Linked DNA regions of Homo sapiens: region 2 is linked to region 1. The links are contacts of gene promoters, found by promoter capture Hi-C in human tissues and cell types (Jung and others, 2019). All regions are on one chromosome and are shown on one strand. The core of a region is centred on a gene start or on the middle of the fragment in contact, and the rest is flanking DNA. Distances in the headings are between cores, read along the strand shown.

The links. The method cuts DNA at HindIII sites, captures the fragments that hold promoters and counts their contacts. A contact is called where the count stands out against the background at its distance.
Region 2: a contact is called between a fragment that was not itself captured here and the fragment with the promoter of DBNDD2 in region 1, in 1 of the 25 tissues and cell types used here (spleen).

Annotation. Positions count from the first base shown.
Region 1 is chr20:45,406,112-45,411,688 of GRCh38, reverse strand. It overlaps DBNDD2 (dysbindin domain containing 2), which reads right to left and starts at 3,400. Exons shown (of 3, transcript NM_001048225.4): 1 at 3,083-3,400; 2 at 2,751-2,888; 3 at 1,082-1,757. The coding sequence starts at 3,221. The coding sequence ends at 1,549. SYS1-DBNDD2 (SYS1-DBNDD2 readthrough (NMD candidate)) reads right to left here. Exons shown (of 6, transcript NR_003189.2): 4 at 3,083-3,229; 5 at 2,751-2,888; 6 at 1,079-1,757. It overlaps LOC107985404 (a long non-coding RNA gene), which reads left to right and starts at 3,800. Exons shown (of 5, transcript XR_007067608.1): 1 at 3,800-3,940; 2 at 5,257-5,575. LOC107985405 (a long non-coding RNA gene) reads left to right here. Exons shown (of 2, transcript XR_001754640.2): 2 at 1-1,114. RefSeq lists an enhancer at 4,263-4,812. The HindIII fragment of the contact is 23,713 bases long and covers 1-5,577 here.
Region 2 is chr20:43,647,273-43,652,849 of GRCh38, reverse strand. It overlaps IFT52 (intraflagellar transport 52), which reads right to left. Exons shown (of 14, transcript NM_016004.5): 14 at 5,551-5,577. It also overlaps the pseudogene RPL27AP. Among named protein-coding and RNA genes, the nearest start is that of MYBL2, 17 kb to the left of the region's middle. The HindIII fragment of the contact is 6,998 bases long and covers 1-5,577 here.

The sequences.
Region 1 (5,577 bases), core at 2,151-4,650:
GGGAGGCCAAGGTGGGTGGATCACCTGAGGTCAGGAGTTCGAGACTAGCTTGACCAATATGGTGAAATCCCGTCTCTACTAAAAATACAAAAATTAGCCTGGCATGGTGGTGTGCGCCTGTAGTCCCAGCTACTCGGGAGGCTGAGATGTGAGAATTGCTTGAACCTGGGAGGCGGAGGTTGCAGTGTGCCGAGATCGTGCCATTGCACTCCAGCCTGGGCGAAAGAGTGTGACTTCATCTTGGGGGAAAAAAAAAGAACTTCCAAAAATTTCTTCCTAAATGGGAATAGACTGGCTGTGCCCTCTTTGCCCATCCCCCATTTCCTCTCCTGCTTTCTGCCAGTCTCAAGGTCATGATGGCTGGGGCTTTGACAGCCACCTTAGATGTGAGATATTGCTAAGAATGCAAACCATGTGCAAAAGAGCAAAAAAGGAGCCCAGTGCTGAGTAACGATGGAGCTTTCATGTAGACCTGTACTTTTTAACTTCTATATGAGGAAATAACTTTATATCTTAAGTCATGATCTTTTACTAGCTGTCAAACTGAAACCTGATCCAGGCTTCAACGGATTTTACAACCTGACCTTTGTCAGTCTTAACTCTCCCTTCATTTCCTCAAATCCAACAATTCAGCCAAACGCAATGTTTTTTAGCTCCTCAAGGATATGCTCTCTCCGTTTAAAGTCTTCACGAGCTGCTCGTTCTGCCTGGCTTACGGACTGTGCCTGGCTAACTCCCAATCGTCCTTCAGCTAAAAACAGCTCTTCAGTGACCATAGAAACTAGGTTAACATGCCCCTATTTTCTGGTACCAGAGTAGTTCCTCATCATGCTATTTATTACACTGTGAATTGTAGTATTTACTTGATTTTCTCCTCCATAAACAGTAAACTCTATGAAGGCAGGTATACAGTACAGCCTGTCTTGCTCAAAACTGTATTCCAGATGCCTAGCATGGGTGTTCCATAAACATTTCTTGAATAAATGGAATGAGTGAGTGATAGGAATATGGGATCGGTTAGAGAGCTAAAGACATGTAGTGGGTTTGATATCTTTGCAATATGAAAAATGAAGTCGAATGGTTGGCATATTATTATTAGTTTATTATTTATACCGTGCTCTGTTCCAAAAAGGATGTAAGGAGGCAGCATGGCTTGAGTACCACCTTACTTGATGAGTTAAGGAGTTCACATCCATCTAGAGACACTTGTCTGAGAGACTGTATTAGAAGACTACGGGATGGTTTAGGGGAGGGAAGAGTGCTAAGAAAAGCAGTGGCATCTTGTCCAACCTCATCTTCTCTCTCCTCATTTGCAAATCATATCTCAGGAGTAAGCCAAAAACTGGTGGGAGGGTTGCAGCAGGAAAAAATTAGCAGTAAAGCAGGAGAGGGTTAATTCTTAGAAAGGTACACAATCCCACCATCCTTCCCACCTCTGGTGCCTACTGCAAGTAAAGAGTCTGGTCTTCTCCCGACAGGCTCTGGCTGGGCCTGTGGTCTCATGTGGAGAATAGCCAGCGTGGTCAGTCTGTAGGCAGGGGCCCACTGCTAGCTGCAGGCTCCAGGCTCTGCCCCTCCATCACCCCTTTCCTCCTCTTCATCCGACTGTGCCAAGGGCGTATCTGCTCCATCATCACTTGGATTTGGGCTATGCAGGTTGGTGGAGGAGTCGGAGGAGGAGGAGGAGGAGGTCCTAGATGTGGTCCTGTCTGATGTAGGCACCGGCAGGCTCAGCTCCTCCAAATGGTTGTCCATCCCTGCCCAGAGAGAAAAGCTGGTCAGGCCACAAACAGGGCTTCAGAGAACTCTTAAAGATTATCTGGCCAGGAGTAACTAAAGTCCACAGTGGGGCAGAGACTTGTCCAAAGTGACTTTGCCAATCCAGCAAAGAGCCAGGATTAAGATCACCATCTCCTGACTGCCAGCTCCTTCCACGTCATTACACCATGTCTGGGATCTACAGTCAGGTCAATGAATGGCAAGAGTTCAAGTTCCACCTACATCACTTATTGCTGCTGAGTGGCTTTGAGCAAGTCACTTTCCCTTTCAAGGACTCTGTTCCTCCTCTGCAAAATAAAAGGGATACCTACATCCCCAAAGGGTTTTGGGAATAAAACCTAAGAATGCTTATAAAATGTCTGGCATAGTAAGCCATCAATAAATAGTAGCAGTTTTAATTAAAAGAATATCTATCTTACAAGTTAAGCATATGGGCTTTGGAGTCAGACAGACATGAATTCCAGTTTATCTACCTTCTGGCTACAATGTGACTTAACTTCTCTGAGCCTAATTTCCTGCTTATAAAATAGAGATTATATCACCTACCCTGACAGGACGTTGTAAGGATTGAGATAATATATGTAAAGTACTTTAGTACAGTATTGGAACCTACTAAAGTACTCAATACATATTAATATCATTATAATGACTAAAACTACTTAAGTTGCCAAATATAAAAATTACAATTTTACATTATTTTAATTATAGTGACTAATTATATTAATATAACAAATGTAAAATTAAAGAAGAGATTGACCGTTCCCAGAATTTTGGATTAGAGATGTGTAACCCAGTTCTCCCTCAGGGTCAACTTCCCTAAAATCAGAACAGGCAGCTGTTTCATTGGTAGAAACACCCACTTCCAGCCCTTACTTGTGTACTTCCCCAGCCCAGCCTTGTAGCCTCGTTTCAGAGCCTGACATCCGGCTCTGGCTGACTGGCACTGAAGTCCCCAAAGCAGAGGGGCATACCAGACGACTGGGGGGTTGGTGGAGGATCTTCGCAAGGCAAGAACACATCTGCTGCATCCGGGTCCCCAAGGTCAATAAGTTCTACTTGCTCCAGTGTGTCCACATTCACTTCCATGGATGAGATACTACCTATGGGGGCTGCGGATCAAGAAGTGGGCAAGTCAGGAGGACCCAAGCTGCACACCAGGACAGTGAGAGTTACATGTCAGGTCCCAAGTTAGAAGCATAGAGGGCCAAGAAAACCAGAGGGGAGAGAGTGCCACAAGATTCAGGACCCACAGGACATCCTCCCTACCCTACCCCAGTCCCTCTTCTCAGGACTTGGGACTTACGTCTCTGCGACTCGAGATGCAGATGGGACAGAGGAAAGACAAACTCTGTCTCTGGCTGTAAAATGTCCTCGAAGAATTTTTGCCGCTCCCGAAGGCGGAGCTGCTGGCGCTCCAGGGCGGCCCGAGGATTTGGGTCCATGTCAGCTCCTGCGGGTAGAGGAGCAAAACAAGTACAGCTGCAAAGTCGAAAGAGAAGACAGAGGGGACCTGGGCTTGGGGCGCCCCACTGCAGCCAGCATCCCAACAGTGGGGCCCCTGGCTCCGGCCTGGACACCTCTGCCCTTGGTGACCTCTTTCCCCTTCCCTGAAACCAAGTGTGTCCCACAAACCAAGTCTCATGCAGAGGCGGGGCTTGCCCTAAGCTCCACAAAGGGGATGCCAGTTCCAGGCACCACAAGAGAGATACTCTGTATTCAGGGAACACAGCCAATGCCCAACTCTCCATATCATGCCCTCCTGAGAGGGGTTGGAGGGATTGGTTCAGCACAAATGGAGGAGGTACGTTTTCCCCTTAATTGGCCCCGCTTGCCTCAGAAGGCCAGGGACAGGATAGGATAGAGACAGAGATCTCAGGGTGGAGGGTTCCCTTCCTCCAGTGCTGCAGCCCACCCCTTCCCATCCTTCAAAACCCAGACAAAGGCTAAAGCAACTCCTCCCGCGCCCCTCCTTTTCTCTCCACCCACACAAACACGTACACACGCATGTGCCATCTACCCCAAACCCTTGCTCTGAAGTCACAGGCCTGACTTCCAGACTAGGCTCTGCCCCTAAGGAAATCACCTTTCTGGTCTTAGTCTCCCCATCTGAAAATGGCATAACCAACCTACCTGCCTCAAATACAAGACCCTGCTTGTGAAGGTGAGCTATTTAGGAGACTACCATCTTTCCTTTGAACTCCAACAGCTCTTTATGCGTCCCCCTCCTGGGACACATCTCACTGACTTATCTCCCCATTAGTCAGTGAGGAGCAATTGGAAAGGCGGGTTCTGGGTCCAGTTCAGAGCAGGCCTCCTGACCCCTAGGGCTGAGAAGCTGAGACCCTGCCAGAGCACTGAGGCTATGGGCCAGCCCAGGTCGGTGCATTCATTCCCATTCGCTCATCTCCTTCCCGGCGTTCTGCTCTGAGCCCATCACCAGAGGCAAGGGAGTTTCTAGCTTGAGGATCAGACGTCATCCTCCGCAGACTGCCTTCCCCACCTCATCTGCACCCAGCGTATCCCAGACCCTGGCCAGCTCCACGGGCGCCACAGAGGTGGAGAGGGACCCAACCCCGACTGGCCAAGGCAGGGCCACGGAAGTCTGGGGAGACCGTGCGGCCGCGGGCTGGCGGCGGAGGAGCGAGGCGCTGACGCCGATTCCCGGGAAAGGCTCTTAGAGCTGCCGCCCAGGTCACAACGCTAAAAATACCCAGGGCCCCTGGAGCCTGTGCTCCAGCAGCGAGGAGGGGGAGGGAGAGGCCAAGGTGGGGGAGCTGACGGGGGCCAGGGGCTCTGGGACACCCCCTCTCTTTTCCCCTCCCCCTAACCCCACCGATCTCACGAGACTGAAGGAGCTGTCCCCCGGGGGGCCGCGGAGCCCAGAGCTGGAGAAAGGGAGTTGTTTACGCGACCTATAGGTACTGGAAAGGGGGTGAAGAGATTTGGGGGCAGGAGGCTGCCAGGGGCCGGGCAGGAGCCAGCGAAATGGAGAACTCCCTCTCGGTCTCAGCCCCACCCGCACTGGAGCCAGCAAGAGGGAAAAAATTCCCTAAAAAGGGACACGAGGCGTCGGCGGAGGACGGGGGGAGGGCGCTCCCCCAAGGCCGTTCCCCTCGTGCTCCGGTCCCCTCCGCGGTCCACCGCGGCACCTGCGCCCACCGCCGCCGGAGCCCCTACCTGCAGCGCTGGCGCCCCCTCTGACTCAGTCCGTCCGCTCCAGCGAGGCCGCGGCGGGGGCGTGGGAGCGAGCCGCGCCGGCCGGGGTGGGGCTGCGCCTCCAGGGCTCCCGGGGGACCGACGGGCCCTGGGAGCCGGGAACGAGGAAGAGGCGGGAGGCGGAAGTGGGGGAGGGGCGGTGGCGGGCTCACTCGCTCGCAGCTCGCCCGGCGGTCGGAGGCAGCCCCTGCGAGCGCGGCTACTGGTACTTCCAAGGCGGTCAAAAAGTTACCCGCACCCATCCTTCCTCCCTCCGCCCAGCCGGACTCCTCTGCACCACCCTCGCCACCGACGCCGGTGCGCTAGTCTCCGCTCGCTCGGATGCACTTGCTGCGCCCCCGCCCCGCGCAGACCCGCGGCGGGCGCCCGCGCCGGTTCTGCCCACGCACACTTGATGCTCTGCGCCTTTTGGGCAGCGCCCACGCAACGACTACGCACCCGAACCCTGCCTCCGGCACCCTTGGCCACACTCGCCACACTTACACGCGCGCACTTCTCCAGAGGACGCACGATGGGAAAGAGAGAGTTGGGACCCGCAGGAGGGGGCAGGGCACTGACCCGGTGCCGCCCAGCAGGGCAGGT
Region 2 (5,577 bases), core at 1,451-3,950, 1.8 Mb after region 1:
GTATTTTTAGTAGAGACGGGGTTTCACCTTGTTGGCCAGGATGGTCTCGATCTCCTGACCTCATGATCCACCCGCCTCGGCCTCCCAAAGTGCTGGGATTACAGGTGTGAGCCACCGCGCCCGGCCACTCTGGTTTCTCTTTAAGTAATACCTCATACCAACTTTCCCAAAGTAACCTGGGTAGTATTTGTTGAAGTTGATCCTGTGGTGATGCATTCCACCAGCATTACTGTGGCCTCTGGGGTGCTTTTGGAGCTTGCCTATGCGGCCATGGCCATGGCTCACATGGCCCCGAAGTTTCTGGGTCTTCCTCAGTCTGGATGGCATTTTGGCGGCTCAGACGAAAGACTCTCTCTCTCTCTCTCTCTCTCTCTCTATATATATATATATATATATATATTTTTTTTTTTTTTTTCTTTTCTTTGAGACGAGTCTCACTCTGTCGCCCAGGCTGGAGTGCAGTGGCCCGATCTCCGCTCACTGCAAGCTCCGCCTCCTGGGTTCACGCCATTCTCCTGCCTCAGCCTCCCAAGTAGCTGGGACTACAGGCGCCTGCCACCATGCCCGGCTAATTTTTTTGTATTTTTTAGTAGAGATGGGGTTTCACCGTGTTAGCCAGGATGGTCTCGATTTCCTGACCTCGTGATCTGCCCCCCTCAGCCTCCCACAGTGCTGGGATTACGGGCATGAGCCACTGCGCCCAGCCACTCAATGTATTTTAAAATACATTTTTTAAAATTAGCTGGGTATGGTAGCATACACCTGTAGTCCCAGTTACTCGGAAAGCTGAAGCAGGAGGATTGCTTGAGCCCAGGAGGTTGAGGTTACAGTGAGCTATGATCACACCAGTGCACTTCAGCCTGGGCAACAGAGCAAGACCCTGTCTCAAAAAAATCAAAAACAAGGCTGGGCGCAGTGGCTCACGCCTGTAATCACAGCGCTTTGGGAGGCCGAGGCGGGTGGATCACTTGAGGTCAGGAGTTTGAGACCAGCCTGGTCAACATGGTGAAACCTTGTCTCTACTAAAAATACAAAAAATTAGCCAGGCGTGTTGGCACGTGCCTGTAATCCCAGCTATTGGGGAGGCTGAGGCAGGAGAATCACTTGAACCTGGGAGGCAGAGGGTGCAGTGAGCTGAGATTGTGTCACTGCACTCCAGCCTGGGAGACAGAATGAGACCCTGTCTCAAAAAACAAAACAAAACAAAAAAACAAAAATAAAAATAAAAACAAATATAACAAAATGGCAGTGAGGGCACACCTTCCTTCCCATTTTATTATATTCATGGATTCTGGGAGTCAGGAATTCACAAAGAACACAGCAGGGATGGCTTGTCTCTGCTCTATGACATCTGGGACCTCAATTGGGATGACAAAAGGCTGAGGTGCTTGATGGTTGGGGCCAGGAGTCATTTGGAGGTATCATCATTCATGTTTGGCAAGCGATTTATACCAAGATGCTGGTATAGACTGAGATCTCTGGCTGTTGGCCAGAACACCTATACATGGCCTATCCACGTGGCCTTGGACTTCTTACATGGAGGCTTGTGTTCTAAAGGTGAATGTCCCAAGATAACCAGGCAGAAGCTGTATAGCCTTTTATGAACTAGCCTCAGAGGTCACCAGCATCACTTCTGCCACGGTGCCAGATTCAAAGATTCAGAGGAGGGAACAGAGACCCCACCTCTCAATGGGAGGAGCATCAAGCCCACAGGATAAGAGAAGAGCATTTGGGTTGGGAGACAATCATTGAACACATTTTGGGTATGTATTTGGAACACACTGCCACAGCACTCCCCAGGCCTGTCCTCTAGCTGCTTATCTCCCAGCTTTGAGCTAGAGCCCCCAAATTCTTCTGCCCCTGGAGTGGCTTCCCCGTTCCCCAGTGCCCTGCCCTGGCTGGCAACTCTGAATAAGCCGTGTACTAGGGCTTGAGTATGGGAGAGAATGGAAGCCTATGAACAGAGCTTTACCATGAAGAAATCATTTGAAACTCAGGATTTGACTTGAGCTGTTCTTCCCAAGCTTTTAAATTTCTAACACTACTCTTTGACAAATGATTCTCATGACTTTAATTAACCACTCCATATGAACAACTCCACTCTTGAGACTGGACATCTTTTCTAAGCCTAAATTAGGGATTTCCAGCCATTTACTAGTTATTTCCACCTGTATTAATTGCCATAGTCTCAACTGGACTCTTATGCTCCAAAACCACTCATCCTTCAGACTCCCCATCTTTTTTTTTTTAATAGAGTTTCCCTCGTTACCCAGGCTGGAGTGCAATGGCATGATCTCGACTCACTGCTACCTCCACTTCCCGGGTTCAAGCAATTTTCCCACCTCAGTCTCCTGAGTAGCTGGGATTACAGGCGCCCGCCACGCCAGGCTAATTTTTGTATTTTTAGTAGAGACGGGGTTTCACCATGTTGGCCAGGCTGGTCTAGAACTCTTGATCTCAGGTGATCTGCCCGTCTCGGCCTCCCAAATTGCTGGGATTACAGGCATGAGCCACCGTGCCTGGCCTAGACTCCCCATCTTTTAATAGCTGCCCCCACTGTCCCAGGAAATCAAGCCCCAAATCTTGCCAATCTAACTTTCAACACCCAGACCAAAGTGTTTCAAAATGCCACCTTTCCTATAATACCACCTTAGTCCACATCCTTATTATTTGCTCTTGGGGTTGTATCAAACTCTTCTGTAAATGACCATCCTTCTACCATTCCCATCTTTATAGAACCCACCAGCTAAACTATTCCCATTGTGCAGCAATGGGAATTGCTCCTCCCCTCCCCCCTCCCCCCTTTCCTCCCACCTCCCCTCCCCTCCCCTCCTCTCCTCTCCTCTCCCTTCTCTCCTCTCCTATCCTCAGTGGCTCTGCAACCTTCCATCTGGCTTTCAGAGTTCCCCAAAGCTGGTTATCTGTGTATGTCAGTACACTGCTGTGCATTTCTATACACCAACTGCACCATTCTGACAGGTGCAGTCTCTCCCATTGTCCCATGACAATACCCTCTAGCCTCCTTGGAACAGATGATTAAATTTGGCCCTACATTATAACCCAAGATGATGATAGAACTGAGTGCTTCAGGAAGCCAGAGGACAGGGAAGAAGCATGGGTGGCCCATTCTGGAGTGCAGTGGTATGATCATAGCTAGTGCAGCTTTGAACTCCTGGGCTCAAGCAATCCTGCCACCTCAGTCTCCCAAATACCTGGGACTACAGGTGTGTGCCACTATACCTGGCTAATTTTCATTTTTGTAGAGATGGACTTTCACTTTTGTTCCCCAGGCTCAGCTTCTAAATCAGGAGTATCTAATCTTTTGGCTTCCCTGGGCAACATTGGAAGAATTGTCTTGGGTCACACAAAATACACTAACAATGGCTGATGAGCTAAAAAAATAATAATAATGGCCGGGTGCAGTGGCTCACACCTGTAATCCCAGCACTTTGGGAGGCCGAGGCTGGTGGATCATGAGGTCAGGAGATCGAGACCATCCTGCCTAACACAGTGAAACCTCGTCTCTATTAAAAATACAAAAAATTAGCCAGGCATGGTGGTGGGTGCCTGTAGTCCCAGCTACTTGGGAGGCTGAGGCAGGAGAATGGCATGAACCTGGGAGGTGGAGTTTGCAGTGAGCCAAGATAGCGCCACTGCACTCCAGCCTGGGCAAAAGGGCGAGACTCCTTCTTAAAAAAAATAAAAAAAATAAAAATAAAAATAATAATAAACACATCTATCTCTTAATTTTTTTTTTTTTTTTTGACAGTCTTGCTCTGTCACCCAGGCTGGAGTGCAGTTATGTGATCTTGGCTCACTGCAACTTCTGCCTCCCAGGTTCAATGATTTTCCCCACCTCAGCCTCCCAAGTAGCTGGGACTACAGCTATGAGCCACTATGCCTGACCATGTCTGGCTAATTTTTTTTTTTTTTTTGAGACAGTCTTGCTCTGTTGCCCAGGCTGGAGTGCAGTGGTACAACCTCAGCTCACCACAACCTCTGCCTCTGGGGTTCAAGCGACTGTCCTGCCCCAGCCTCCTGAGAAGCTGGGATTATAGGCCTGCACCACCACACCCGGGTAATTTTTGTATTTTTAGGAGAGACAGGTTTTCGCCATGTTGGCCAGGCTTGTCTTGAACTCCTGACTTCAAGTGATCCATCCACCTCGGCCTCCCAAAGAACTGGGATTACAGGCATGAGCCACCGTACCAGGCCTCTACACCTGGCTAATTTTTGTATTTTTTGTAGGGACAGGGTTTCATCCTGTTGGCCAGGTTGGTCTCTATCTCCTGGCCTCAGGTGATCCACCCACCTTGGCCTCCCAAAGTGTTGGGATTACAAGCATGAGCCACTGCACCTGGCCTCATAATGTTTTAAGAGTTTACAAATTTGTAGGCCGGGCGCGGTGGCTCACGCTTGTAATCCCAGCACTTTGGGAGGCTGAGGCGGGCGGATCATGAGGTCAGGAGATCGAGACCACGGTGAAACCCCATCTCTACTAAAAATACTAAAAATTAGCCGGGCGTGGTGGCGGGCGCCTGTAGTCCCAGCTACTCGGAGAGGCTGAGGCAGGAGAATGGTGTGAACCCAGGAGGCAGAGCTTGCAGTGAGCCGAGATCGCGCCACTGCACTCCAGCGTGGGTGACAGAGCGAGACTCCGTCTCCAAAAAAAAAAAAAAAGTTTACAAATTTGTTTTAGGCCACATTCAAAGCCGTCCTAAGCCACATGCAGCCCATGGGCTGCGGGTTGGACAAGCTTGCTCTACATGGTTGTGTCCTATGGGCAACTGGGAGATGAAGGGATGAGATCTATATAAGGAAGGTATCTGTCTACTCTTTTATCTTCTTCTTTAGGTACAGTGGGGTAAACAGACTATGGGTTAAGTTCTGTATCCTTTTTTTTTTTTTTTTTTGAGACAAGAGTCTTGCTCTGACACCCAGACTGGTATGTGGTGGTGTGATCTCAGTTTACTGCAACCTCCGCCTCCCGGGTTCAAGTGATTCTCCTGCCTCACCCTCCCGAGTAGCTGGAACTACAGGTGTGTGCCACCATGCCCGGCTAATTTTTTGTACTTTTAGTAGAGATGGGGTTTCACCATGTTAGCCAGGATGGTCTCGATCTCCTGCCCTCGTGATCCACCCAACTCGGTCTCCCAAAGTGCTGGGATTACAGGCATGAGCCACTGCACCTAGCCTCCCATCCCCCCCTTTTTTTTTTGAGACAGAGTCTCACTGTCACCCAGGCGGGAGTGTAGTGGCGTGATCTCGGCTCACTGCAACCTCTGCCTCCCAGATTCAAGTGATTCTCCTGTCTCAGCCTCCCAAGTAGCTGGGATTACAGGCACATGCCACCACACCTGGCTAACTTTTGTATTTTTAGTAGAGACAGGTTTCACCATGTTGGCCAGGCTGGTCTTGAACTCCTGACCTCAAATGATCCGCCCGCCTCGGCCTCCCAAAGTGCTGGGATTACATGAGTGAGCCACCGTGTCCAGCCACTGTTGTATCCTTTCAACCGGTCCAGAAAGCTGTACAGTATTTACAACAAGCTTGAGAGTTAATTATGTCTTTGATAAA